Regions from separate parts of the Homo sapiens genome. Here region 2 is linked to region 1. Evidence: promoter capture Hi-C in human tissues and cell types (Jung and others, 2019). All regions are on one chromosome and are shown on one strand. Each heading gives the region's core, a stretch centred on a gene start or on the middle of the fragment in contact. The rest is flanking DNA. Distances are from core to core; before and after follow the strand shown. Region 1 holds the start of SUOX (sulfite oxidase). Region 2 holds the start of PA2G4 (proliferation-associated 2G4).

Region 1 (6,738 bases), core at 59-2,558:
CATGAGCCACTGTCCGGCTTCCCCTCCCCTCCCCCTGCCCCTGACAGGGTCTTGCTCTGCCCAGGCTGGAGTGCAGTGGCGTGATCTCAGCTCACTATAGCATCAAACTTCTGGGCTCAAGCCATCCTCCTGCCTCAACCTCCTGAGTAGCGGGGACCACAGGCGTGTGCCACCATGCATGGTCTTTTTTTTTTTTTTTTTGTAGAGATGAGGTCTTACTATGTTGCCCAGGCTGGTCTCAAACTCCTGGGTTCAAGTGATCCTTCAAACTTGGTCTCACAAAGTCCTGGGATTATTACAGGCATGAGCCACCACTCCCAGCCTCAAAATATCTTATTGTACTGTGTTCAACTATTTTCCAAGCGGTTGACCATAGCTAACTGAAACTCAGGAAAAGGAAACTTTGGATAAGGGGAGACTGCTGTAATAACATTGTCTTTGAAGGCTTTTCAGTCCCCAACTCTCCCTCCATTCACCCTAAAAAAAATTGAACCCAGCTGGGAACTGGACCCCAACCTAGGGTCCCGGACCACCTCAATCTTCTCTGTGCCACTGTAGTGAGCTCAGCAAATTGAGGAGTTAATGGCCAGAGTGTCAGGGGCAGGCTGGAGAAGGAAGGTAATTTTTCTGCTCTCTGCCCTGCAAGTTTCTTCCTCAAATTGCTGAACAGAGAGCACTGACCCAGCAGGGCCAAAGTGAGGAGGGGTGACAAATGTCTAAACTGCTGATGAGATGCTGGAGACCAATGTGCTGGGGTGGGTGGGTCGTGGGTAGGGAGGAAAGGAAACCTAGAGATGGGAATAGGAGCAGTCTTCACCTTGCCCCTGGGCCATGGGACCATTACTCTCTCTGCCACCTACCTCAATGCCAGCAGCCTGTTTGTACTAGACCAGAGCAGTGCAGGTAGGGCTGACTCGCAGGTGAACTCAGTGAGCCCAGAATCCCAGGTTTGGGAGGGACAGCCTTTTGCTGTAATACAGAAATGCCACCCGTTGGTGCAGGTGATGACCCCTCACTCCCCATGGGCACGTTAGGTAGGAACATACGTCCGGCATCCAGGCACAAAAGGGTCTTGCGGCAACACCCCGCGATCTCAAGAGCACCCAGACAGAAGGAGTGGAGGCAGGTACTGATAGTTTTGTTGCCCTTGAGGTTCGGAGCACAGCTGGACACCAAGGCCCCCTCCGCTGCCCAGCTCAGCAGCCCTTCCTCCCCAGCTTCTTTACCACCCCCAGTCTCCTTACCGGGTCCAGTGTCTTCAGCACTGCAATTTTACCAGCCCAGCTCTGCGAGTTCTCGAGAAGGGGCGGGGCCAGCGCCGTTATGTCCGGCTGCAGTAAGTGACCTCTCACTCCCCTCAGCTTATCCCTCAGCCATTGGCTGGAAGCGGGTGGCTCAACCATTGGCTGGAACCCGCCTCCTGGAGCCGAGACAGGCAGGTTGCTAAGAAGCCTGGGAGAAGAGGCTGGCTCTTTTTGCTGTCACTCTCGCCAACAGTCCGGAGTCCATTATACCCCTGGTGTGCAAAGAATGGGACCCTTGTGCACCAGGGCTGTATGTCCGGAGCTCGGGCAGTGTGGAAGGTGACAAGGAATCCAAAAGTTGGGCTGACAGGTGGGAGATTTTGAGACACCCCTGCCGCCCCTCCCTGGAGGAGGCCTCGGGATCCAGTCCGGTTTTCCCCGGCTGTGATCTCCACTTTAAACCCAGGGTAGACCTACCTCTATCTACTCTGTTGCAACTACAACTACCCTGTTTATCTTTTAGGGAAAGCAAAGTCAATCGCTTAGTTCTCGTATTCCAGGAATGATAACAGAAATGCCTAAAATAGTGGTTCCAAGAATTTGAGATTCCTTGGGCTAGTCGAATTTCTCCCCAAACAAAAATGAAACAACAACACTGAATAGCCGTCTTTTATTTTGCGTAGAAAAAAAAAATAATAATCGCCCCTTGGTGGCACACGCCTGTAGTCCCAGTACTCGGGAGGCTGAGGCGGGAGGATCGCTTAAGCCCAGGAGTTCGAGGTTGCACTGAGCCAAGATCGCGGCACTGCACTCCAGCCTGGACAACAGAGCAAGACCCCATCTCTTAAAAAACAAACTGCCCCTTAACAAGAGCAATGGCAGCTTAACACCCCGAAGTATGAAGGTTGTAGTCTCTTATCTCAAAGTAAGGGGCATAAATATAATACATTTCCTATTACCCTTTTGTCATTTGATGCAGGACAAAATTTATCAAACCTAGTCCCCCAATCTGGACAAATGTATCCATACACTGCCCTCTAGAGGCCGGACGGTGGAGCTGCAATTTTAATCAGTTTAAGTGAAGGTGTTCACCTTTAATTTTGAAAGATCATTTCCTTTCCTTTCGGCTCTCCAACTAGAGCTTTTACCAGGAATCAGGGAACGGGGGTGGGGGGTATTACCAAGAGATATAAGGTAAGGGAACCGACAGTGAAAAGTTGGCAAGTTGGCTTTGGCTCTTAAGTGTTTGGAAATGGAAAGGATTTCAATCTGTATACAATCAAATCACTGAAGAAGGCTAATGCCCAACCTATCCTACCAGTTGTTAAAAAAAAAATATATATATATATATATATGTATATATATATGGAGAGAGAGAGAGTGAGAGAGAGAGAGAGAGGGAGAAAGAGGGAGAGAGAGAGAAAGCGAGCTTCAACCTAAAAAAAAAAAAGTCTCAGCCAAAGGAAGATACAGAGAAGTCAGTTAGGGACTATCTAAAAGCCTCCTTCCTAATAGTGTCATCTACTTTTGTGTGACACACATACTTTACATAATTGACCTTAATCTTCAGCTTTTACTTTACAGATGAAGAAACGAGGCGGAAGGCACTAACTAACTTGATCAAGGCCACAGCTGGTTAAGTTGACAGAGACAGGCCTAGAATGTCAGATTTGTCTGGCACCAGTCCTCTTTCCTATCCACCTTCAGATTCTTTGGAATTTAAAGCCTACTGCAACCACACATAATCCTATTTCATTTCCCTTCCCTCGACCTTTAGACTGTGGTGGACTGAAGGGTTTGAAGTACACTAGGAGTCAAGAGCAGATCCAGAGGAAATTTTCCCGTTGAGGTGGAAGCTACAAGAAAACTAACTCAGTGATGTTTTTCAACCTTTGGGTCATGGACCCCTTTGAGAAACATATAGAAATGGATCCTAGAAATATGCACATACGGCCGGGCGCAGTGGCTCACGCCCGTAATCCCAGCACTTTGGGAGGCCAAGGTGGGTGGATCACGAGGTCAGGAGTTCAAGACCAGCCTGACCAACATGGTGAAACCCCGTCTCTACTAAAAATACAAAAATTAGCTGGGTGTGTTGGTGCGTGCCTGTAATCCTAGCTACTCAGGAGGCTGAGGCAGGAGAATCACTTGAACTCAGGAGGCGGAGATTGCTGTGAGCCAAGATCGTGCCACTGTACTCCAGGCTAGCGACAGAGACTCCGTCTCAATTAAAAAAAAAAAAAGAAATATGCACATACATTTTTGTATACTACTTCAAATAGCACCCCTCTCTCTAATCTGATCAGTGGGCCCAAAGATCCACAGACCATACCCTACACATATACATTCTGTTAAGAGGGCCTAAAAAGATATAATAGGGTTTGATTTGATGAACAATCTAGTGGCCTTAGAAGAGGGGTGATTAAATAGCAATAGAAGGGCTATTTTCTAAACTAGATGTTTAAGAAAAGATTAAAGGGAATAAAGATGTATCAAGATGCAGGGAAAGGTGTGTTTCTGATTCAGTAGAACATTACTGGGTATCCTTTCTTCCAAATTCCTAGTACCTGACAAATAGCAAAAATAATAATAATAATAACAATAAAATAAAAAAAAGCAACACTCCAATGCCCTTTTCTTTTTTTCCTTTTTTTACTTACATTAAATACATCGGTAAATCAGCAGTCGCATTCTGTTACCACGATTGTTATGTTGGGAGAGGAAGAAAGGCAAATGCTTTCTCAGAAGCAAAACAAAAACAAAAAACCACAACACCCCCCCTTAAAAAAACTGACCAGAAGAAAAAAATGAGCTGGGAAATAAACAAAAGAAAACTAAGATCCCCAAGCCCAACAGAGCTCAAAGGAAGGCAGAAGAGGTGGTAGGAAGTAGAGGGAAGGCAGCCGATAGGCCCAGAAGCTAAGGCCAAATCCTGTTCCTATGGGGGTGGGGGGAGGGAGAAGCCTGGGGAAGTGGTTTCCCAGGCCCAAGATAATGAAACATCTTCACTCCTGCTCCAAGGGGGAAAGCTGCACAGAGAAAGAACTTCATTTCTAGAAGACTTTGGAAAGCCATCCTAGTTCTTCCACTTGTAAAAAGGATGCACTGGGTGCTATGGGGGGCCAGTGGCTTCTGGGAAAGGAAGGGGGAAATGTGTGTGTTTCAGGGCCATGGGAACTAAGGCTGCCCCTGGAAAAGGAAGGGAATTGAGGCCTAAGTGGAAGAACCTAAGCTGGGTCCTTCAGAATCTCAGCTTCATAGATTTCTCAGCTGTTCTGGGATAGAAGGCAGTCTGCAAGCCAAAAGGGCAGGAAGGTTCCAATCCTAGGTCACTGTGACCTTTCCTTTCTTTCTTTCCCAAAACTCCGGGCTGGAACAAGGAACTTAAAGTTCTCTTTTGCCTTGATGGCTTCTCAGAGACATCTTAAAACACCTGATGAAGGATATGAAGAGAGACTAGAGATTTAGAAAGGACCAAGGTCCTCTGATAATATGAGCCAGTTGTAAGGTACCTTCAGTGCCGGTCATTCCCTCTCCACAGGAACAGGTGGTATGATACGAGGGCACCACAGGAGGCCTCTGTGGTACTAGCCCCTATTGGTACATGGATTAAACCACTGGTTGCATGATGGGGAGGGATGGGGGGATTAAGGATGGAGGGACTAAATTCAAGATATTAACAAAGGAACAAAGAAACAGGGCCTGATGGGAGGCAGAGGATAGAACAGACTGTACAGTGGGAATAAAGATCATACCTATTTACAAGGAAGTAGAAAAGACATGGTAATGGATATCAAATTGAGTGTGAAACCTGGGAAAGGACAGAAAACTCCTCCCTTTTGCCTGACCTCCTTTTTACTCCCCTACCTTGGCCTGTGCTATCCTGAGACACTCCTCAATTGCTCAATTAATTCTCCAGGAAAGGCAAACCTATAGTCAATAGTTAGCTTGGCAAGAATATAGGTTAATAATTAGAGTTGGAGGAAGCTAACAGTGGAGATAGGACTTGAGTAGCTGCCACTGGTAGTTTTATCTATAACCTCTCCTCGAACCTCGCATTAACCTCAGATTTCATTGAATTAAAAAGAAGGTGGGAGGGCAAGTAAATCAATCAAAACTTCCATAAAACAAGTACCCCAACTGAACTACCATCAATTAAAGTGCAAACTGCAGGGGTATATGGTGGCTGGGGCTGAGGCCATCTAAAGGCCAGAGGGGAAAAAATGCATATGTATAAATCAGAGGATGGGTACCAGAAACTGTCCCTCCTCCAATCAGATCACAGCAGAGCCAAAGATGCAGGCAACCAGTGAAAATTCTTTGGAAGACTCTGGGGTCCAACCCCCACGATTAGGGGAAACGCTACCTAAGAGGCTGCGTGAGGGGAAACTGGGCCTTTGAAGAGTTACAGAGCCACAGTTGACACTGCACCTCCACCTCCGCCCAGTTAGCTTACAAGGCACCTCCTGCCTGGTGCCTGAGATCTTGCCTCCCCATTCTCACCTCTACCTAGGAACACCCTCCACAAGGCCAAATCATGGATACCGCAATGTTTTCAAATATGAGAAACTCCAACCAAATAAAAACAAAAAGGAAATGTTTCCTTACTCCCTCCTGCTCTGAGCTTTATTCTCCCCCAGGGCCCTTAATGTAAATGAACTGGAAACCTCCTTCCTCAGTTCCTGGGTTCACCACTTTCTGCATCCTGGGGAGAGGAGAAAAGAGGCTCAAGAACAGGGACTGACCAAAAGCAGAAGGGGAAGGGACAGGAGTCAGAAGTGTTTTCTGAAAAAATGGGGAGGAACACTAGGGAGGAGGAGAAAAGATACGTAAGTCGCTGTCTTGTACCTATAATACAAAGTGAAGAAAGTTTGTTTTGGAAGGTAAGTCCTGGGGGGAGTTGACCCCCAAGCCCCAGAGTAGGGGGTAGGAGGCCAGTGGCAACAGCTGCCTGGTGTTTGTTGCTGAAGCGTTAAAAAGTGCCATGACGGAGCTGTCAGGAGGCAGCCCTTGGGAGCCAGGGCTCAGTGTGCTGTTACCGTAGGGGTTGTGTGCTGAGGGGTAGGGATGGAGGTTATTTCTTAGCTCTTGTGCTAGCTCCATACTTGTTTGCTGCTAGCCACCCCCTCAGTTGCTACAACACTGGCTCTTGTTCTGCTGGGACTGTTCATGGAGATCCACACCCCGGCTTCGGCCTGCTGCACCTCCCAGATTCTGGGGTTCACTCTTTGGCAACTTCTTAGCTAGAGATAAAAAGAGAAGAGAACAAAGTATGGTAGACTTTACTTCCCTACCCCTCTGCCTCCACCCGCCAAAAACGGCTACTGAATTGGGGAAAAGGGAGAATTTGAGAGATTAAAAGAATGTTCTGAAGATGGGAGGGTTCACTATTTGCAAACTTTTTTTTTTTTTTTGAGATGGAGTCTCGCTCTGTTGCCAGGATGGAGTGCAGTGGCACAATCTCGGCTCACTGCAACCTCCACCTCCCGGGTTC
Region 2 (6,942 bases), core at 1,958-4,457, 110 kb before region 1:
TCACCCTCCTTCTCATAGAGAACATTAAATGGTTGCAGCAGTTCATGTTTGGCGCACTCCACCACACCCATCCGAGCCTTCTTCTCATCTTCAAATGCTCTGGCAGGGAAGATGATATTCAGAGGTATCTTTAACTCCCCATCAAGTCTTACCATTTTGCTCATATTTTAAAATAGCTCCTACCCTCAGGCAGAAATCATGCTTAGGATTGCTCTTTTACATTACCTTCAATGAGAAGGAGATGGGGAGAGAGAGGGAGGGAGTGAGCACATGCACGCTACAAGTCTAGGCAGGAAGGGAGAGGAAAAAGTGTTCCTGGGTGTATGGTCTGTGAGTCAGACTGGTTCCAAGTACTATCATTGCTTAGTACCTTAAAGTAAACGGCATGGCATCAAAACGCCTTTCCACCTCACTGAAGAAGGCACGTGAAGTTTTCATTTTCAGTCCATACTGTTTAGAGGGGTCTCGTTTGTAAATAGTGGTTCTCTGTCCTGCATCCTTGGCCTGAAAGAGTAATTTAAGTAACATTTGGTCTGGTGAACACTCTCAGTCACCCCTCTTTGCCAACTCTGGTACTCTCCTCACCTTGCCCTCTCCTGAGCTGACGAGAACATCCACAGCATATACTTCATGTACCTCAAATTCAGCTTTTTCATGGTCCTTCCTAAAAGGAATAGAGAGAAAGGAATTTTTTTTTTTTTTTGACACAGAGTCTCATTCTGTCACCCAGGCTGGAGTGCAGTGGCACAATCTCAGCTCACTGCAACCTCCACCTCCCGGGTCCAAGCAACTCTCCTGCCTCAGCCTCCCAAGTAGCTGGGACTATAGGCACAAACCACCAGGCCTGGCTCATTTTTGTAGTTTTTAGTAGAGACAGGGTTTCGCCATGTTGGTTAGGCTGGTTCTGAACTCGTGACCTCAGGTGATCCACCCGCCTCAGCCTCCCAAAGTGCTGGGATTACAGGCGTGAGCCACCGCGCCCGGCCTAGAGAAAGGGAATATTAAGAGCAACAGGTCACTCCTGAAAACATGGAGTAGAGGGCGGACAAGATTCAGTTGGGAGTATAGAAAAAAACCTGATGACTAGTCTTGTGTGGTAGAAGGTAATAAGTAGGGTTGGCACCTACTTCTGCTGGTCTGTGGGATTCTGGATAATGGTTTTTTCTCCATCGATGACATGCTGCTTCAACTGGTGTGACAGCATACCTGTAGATAGTACACAACCTATGGAACAAGCTATCCAGTATCCCAAAAGGTTTCCAAATCCACCCACTTCAGTAGTTTGAAGTGGTAGGCAGTGAGACAACTACCTGGTTATGGAAACACAGGGCTCTGAGATTTCTGGCTTAGACTGGGTTATAGCCAGGATAGATCTTCAAGGGAGCAAAAGCCTCAATTCTGCAAAGCCACTCATTCTTTTTTTTTTTTTTTTTGAGATGGAGGAGATGGAGTTTCGCTCTTATTGCCCAGACTGGAGTGCAGTGGCGCAATCTTGGCTCACTGCAACCTCCTCCTCCCGGGTTCAAGCGATTATCTCGCCTTAGCCTCCCAAGTAGCTGGGATTACAGGCACCCACCACCACGCCCAGCTAATTTTTATATTTTTAGTAGAGACGGGGTTTCACCATGTTGGCCAGGCTAGTCTCAAACTCCTGACCTCAGGTGATCCGCCCACCTCAGCCTCCCAAAGTTCTGGGATTACAGGCGTGAGCCACCGCACCTGGCAAAGCCACTCATTCTTAGACCCTCAACCCTGTTATCTGTTCTCACCTTCTATTGGCGTGCAGTTAAATGAGTGGGCAACTTTGTTCCAGGCTTCTGTCACTTGTGTGTTCTAGAAGTACAACATCAAATGAAAGGTGAGATATCAGGAGCTAATAAGTTCTCTACAATGAGAATAAGAAGCATAAAAGAACTGAGCGTTTTTTTTTTTTTTTTTGAGATGGAGTCTGGCTTTGTCACCAGGCTGGAGTGCAGTGGCGTGATCTTGGCTCACTGCAATCTCTGCCTCCCGGGTTCAAGCTATTCTCCTGCCTCAGCCTCCTGAGTAGCTGGGATTACAGGCACGCAACACCACGCCCAGCTAATTTTTGTATTTTTAGAAGAGACGGGGTTTCACCATGTTGGCCAGGATGGTCTCGATCTCCTGACCTCGTGATCTGCCCACCTCAGCCTCCCAAAGTGCTGGGATTACAGGCATGAGCCATTGCACCTGGCAGAACTGAGCGTTCTAATATCCTCCATCAAGCCCCAATGATTGTCATTCACTGGTTTTTCATTTCATAGCTTGATTATCCCTACAATCTAAAAATACTTTATACAGATGCTCCCCAACTTGCAATGGGGTTACATCTCCAAAAAACTCATAAGTTGAAAATATCACTAAGTCAAAAATGCATTTAATACCCCTAACCTACCTAACATCACAGCCTAGCCTATGTTAAATGTGCTCAGAGCACTTAAAAAACATTATCCTACAGTTGGGCAGAATTATCTAACACATGCCTATTTTATATTAGTGTTGAATATCTCATGTAATTTACTAAATACTATATGGAAAATGAAAAACAGAATGGTTGTATGGGTACTCAAAGTATAGCTTCTACTGAATGTAGCATCAAGCTGAGGACCAGCTGTAACTGCATATCATTTTACCCAGTGCTTTCACAAAGATGGTCTAACTCAATAAATTTTGCATGTGAACAGGGCAGATGTATATCCCAATCTAGAAGACAAGGAAACTGAGTCTCAGGTTAAATGATTTGCCCCAGGTTAAATGAGTGTTAAGTGAAAGAACTTGGTCATAAACCTGGGTTTTCTTTTTTCTTTTTGTAGACGGGTCTCGCTATGTTTCCCAAGCTGGTCTCAAATGCCTGGGTTCAAGCAATCCTCCCACCTTGGCCTCCCAAAGTGCTGGGATTACAGGCATGTGCCACCACATGCCTATAATATTAAGTCCAGTGTTTATCCTTTTTTACCTGGCATTCTAATCTGTTTTGTGGGGACAGCAAATGCTTATTTTTCCTTTTTCTTTTGTGAGACAGGGTTTCATTGTTGCCCAGGCTGGAGTGCAGTGGCATGATCATAGCTCAGCACAGCCTCAATCTCCCAGGCTCAGGTGATTCTCCCACCTCAGCCTCCCTGGAAGCTGGGAATACAGGCACATGTTACCACGCCCAGCTAATTTTTGTATTTTTTGTAGAAATGGGGTTTCACCATGTTTCCCAGGCTGGTCTTGAACTCCCAGCCTCAAGCTATCCTCCTACCTTGGCCCCCCAAAGTGATGGGATTACAGATGTGAGTCACTGTGCCCAGCTAAATATAGCTAATTTTAAAAAGCTGTTTTATAAGGGGTCTGTAGGGGAGGTTGGTAGTTTCATATAGAGTAGCTATAGGTGCCTAATGCATCTTTGGTTCAAACGAGCTTTGGAATTGGATAAAATAGCTTACCTGATTTCCAGGTTTGACCAGGCGTAGGGCAGCTTCAGCACAAAGGTGAGCTGCCTTAATAACATCTGCTTTCCTCCCTGTTACTTGGGTCCCCTGTAGATAAGGACATGCAATCAGTATCTTCCTGGAAAGTCTGTTAACTCAGCTGGCTATCTGGTTAATATCTGTGAGCCCATATGCGAAGACCAGCCAATGAACAGGAGGGTAAAAACAACAACAACAACAAAAACCTTTCTCCTTTTGCTTCTCTAGAGACTCTCTCAACTTACGTGGTGATTGGGGGTGGGGATAAGAAGCAAATGGCAGTGCATTCCCTCTACCCCAAGGCTAAACAGAGATCAAAAGCAGGCCACCTACCTGAGCTACATCAACCACAAAAGTGTGAGCTACATTAGCGATGAAGCCATCCACATGGACCCCAAGGTCACTGAAAGGCAAGATCAGAGTACTGCATTAGGAACTGGCATTTTGTAAATGCTTTAAAAAAAGAAAAATGCTTTAAAACGGTTTAACCTTACATTTTTACCAAGTCACCTTCCTTGAGAATATAATCCTGGTCGCTCTTCAAAGGGGAGAAGTGACATACACAGTTATTTACCGAAATGCTGGTGGGAAAAGCAATACCTGTAAAGAAAGAATCATCAGCCTACTGCCTTGCTGTCTCCCGGGAGCCCTAGTGCCCTTCAGAAATGTAGAAGGATTTTTTCAGGGTCTTGCTTAAGTTTCATCAGTTTGGATTAGGTAGGAAACTGCTTGTATCCCACTTGCCATTCCAAATTTCCAAATACCTCAGCCAGAGCTGGGGTGGGGACTGCGTCATTACAGTGAAAAAAATAAAAACATATAGGACCAAATAAGGGTCAAACGGAAAATTAGTGAGGGATTTTTTTTTTTTACCTTTCTTCATTTCCTTTTCTTTCTTGAAGATTTTCCCTGTTTCTTCCATAATCATGGCATCACCTTTCTCACACAGGCTCAGTACCGACACACCTGAGCTAGATGCTTCCACCAAGGACCGAAGTACCCCTGAGGACAGAATCCCATCATGTCAGCCTTGTATGTATTCATTGTCTAGTTACCACCCAAGGAATACCTGGAAGTTGAATTTAAGAGTTTCCATAATACTCCCTGGTGCCATTGCCCTGAGGCTGAAAGGTCAACATTCCCTTCTCTTCCTTACATTATGTGACAACTGGGTATATACAATCCATCTCCCTAGGCAAGGCCTCAGACTTTCCAAAGATGCTACCTTTGGTGTGACAGGACAGAGTTATGAACTTCAGAGGGTTCTTGCCATGGTATCCCCACATACACGCAAAGACTAGATGAAATTTATAGGCATCAGGGACAAGAAGGTAGACAGAATTGCTGACTCGAAGCCGATGCACTGTTAAATGTTACCGCATTCCTTTCTCAGACACTCTAATTAGGTGTTAGGAATCTCAATCTATATAGACTTATTTCCTCATAAACAAGTGCATAAGCCAAGGAAACTTAATCTAAGGTCCCTGGGTTTCATTTCGGGGGATCATGGCTTATCTAAAAGAAATATGAGGCCAAAGTTATAAACTGTAAGAGATTTTCTGATTCAAACCACTAGTATCTCAAATACTAAAAGGCACCAAAAACCAGGGTACGATACTAAATGTCCACTGTGATATAAAGCACAGGTTTGACTTTTGGTATCTCAGTTTTGGTGATTCTTTGAAAGCTGGTAAAACTCAGATTTTCACCCACAGGACGGGAGGCATCCTAAATACCTGTTCCCCACCATCTTTGCTGTTAAAACCATTTAAAAGCACAATGACAAGCAGTTTGTATCTCCCTAACTGGAATAAAATGGAAAGGCTAACTGGAAAGAGAGAAAAGAGAAAGTGGCATCTGCCTAGAGTGACAGGCAACTGCTGAGATCGTCAGAGCACACCTGGAGTAAGGATGACTTGTGAAAATCCTAAAATCAGTCCTCCCTTTTCCAGTAATGTTCACAAGCTTGCCTAGTTGGGATAAGACGGAGACCCCAAAACATTTGAGTTGTCAAGTCACTGAGAACAACAAATGTGAATGCTAACTAAGACTATCTGCACAGATTGGAAAGGTGGTAGTAATGAGTAACTTCAAGAAAAGCCATATATATCTCCAAGACTTGCATTAGAAGCTCCAGGAGTGCTCTCCAACGGTCTCCTTAGCTGGCCCAAGGTAGAAGGGGGCCCCCACCAGGGTAAGAGCTGAAGTAAAGAAGGAAAGGCTCCAGCAAAGCACGTGGTGGGGAAGCTGGTGGTGGGGAAGCTGGTGTCAGGGACACTAGCGGAGTAAGAAGGGGGCCAGCCATCCGCAATGGGACCCAGCAACACGTGCCGGCTTGGCTCCTGACGCCCCGGAGACGCTACAAAAACAGAGGGGCACTTCTGTCGCCAATAGCTGGGCGCTTCCTTTTCGAGGTGGCCTCGCCGCTGCCAGAATCAGAGGAAGCAATAATCGGGAATGAAGGATAGGAACAAGAGAAAACACGTCTTGCCTCCTAACAAACGGCCTCGGGTCGGAGCCTGCCAGGGTCCCCTCTCTGCGCTCATCCTGGTCGCCGACCCGCACCTCCATAGACTTCAGCCTGGGCCTGCCCGCTCAGGTCCCAGGCGCGACACCGGGTCTTCCCACCACGCCGTGCCCAGCGGACCGGTGCGGGCCCCTCAGTAGCTCAGTCCGCATGACCCCTCCGCTCCAGCCCCTTCCGGGCCAGCCTGTTACCTTTCCCTATCAGCCTTGATTCCCCGACCCCCGAGGCCGCACTCACTGTTGGCGATGTCGCCCCCCATCTTATACTTGGTCACGACCAGGTCCTCAGCGATAGTTTGCTCCTGTTGCTCGTCCTCGCCCGACATCTTCCTACTACCACCACTGCAGCCTCGTTTCCCCTGAGCCGCCGCCGCCTCTGTCTCCCTTCCCAGCCACAGGCTGTGGTCAGAGTCCCCTCGATCCTCGAGGAGAGGGCGAGCGAAAGCGCGAGCAAGCAAGGGAGCGGGCAGGCAGGCGAGAGCGAGAAGCTGCGAGCGCGCGGGCTGAGGCGCAGGGCACGCTGGGACAACTAGTCCTCTCGGCCGCCAGACTCTAGCCGCTCTCGAGGGCCTTCGAACTACAATTCCCAGCCTGCCTCTCGCGCTCCTAAGCCAGGCCCTGGGGCCTTGCCCTCCAAGGGCCTCGCACGCCGGAATCGCCGGGCACTCTGGGAAGGGTCAGGCTCCGGCGGGAAGGCGGAGCCGTTGGGGAGCTTGAGGGGAAGCGTGGTCTCTCCCGGAAAAACCACTTCCACCGAGAACGCTGAGCGAGAGCCAGTAACAGAGAGGGGCGGGCTGAGGGGAGAGGGGCGGAGCTACGGCGGGGAAATAGGTTTAAAGTCGAGCGGGCAGGGGTGGAGTAGAGTGGAGCCGCAGCGGGTGGGCAGTGTCTACACCTAGGTCGGGGAGGCTGGGTGCGCCCTTCTTCGGATCCCTGGGTCGGC

Evidence for each region. The method cuts DNA at HindIII sites, captures the fragments that hold promoters and counts their contacts. A contact is called where the count stands out against the background at its distance.
Region 2: a fragment that was not itself captured here is called in contact with the fragment with the promoter of SUOX in region 1 in 3 of the 25 tissues and cell types used here (IMR-90 fibroblasts, bladder and dorsolateral prefrontal cortex).

The regions. Positions count from the first base shown.
Region 1 is chr12:55,991,846-55,998,583 of GRCh38, reverse strand. SUOX (sulfite oxidase) reads right to left here and starts at 1,308. Exons shown (of 5, transcript NM_001032386.2): 1 at 1,245-1,308; 2 at 861-969. RAB5B (RAB5B, member RAS oncogene family) reads right to left here. Exons shown (of 6, transcript NM_002868.4): 6 at 1,901-6,487. The coding sequence ends at 6,372. RefSeq lists a silencer at 1,259-1,448 and an enhancer at 1,034-1,534. The HindIII fragment of the contact is 9,188 bases long and covers 1-6,738 here.
Region 2 is chr12:56,104,121-56,111,062 of GRCh38, reverse strand. PA2G4 (proliferation-associated 2G4) reads right to left here and starts at 6,504. Exons shown (of 13, transcript NM_006191.3): 1 at 6,238-6,504; 2 at 4,347-4,475; 3 at 3,968-4,073; 4 at 3,807-3,876; 5 at 3,450-3,542; 6 at 1,770-1,833; 7 at 1,128-1,206; 8 at 586-664; 9 at 371-504; 10 at 5-99. The coding sequence starts at 6,325. LOC105369782 (a long non-coding RNA gene) reads left to right here and starts at 6,644. Exons shown (of 2, transcript XR_944995.4): 1 at 6,644-6,775. RefSeq lists enhancers at 6,230-6,449, 6,460-6,809. The HindIII fragment of the contact is 6,733 bases long and covers 1-6,573 here.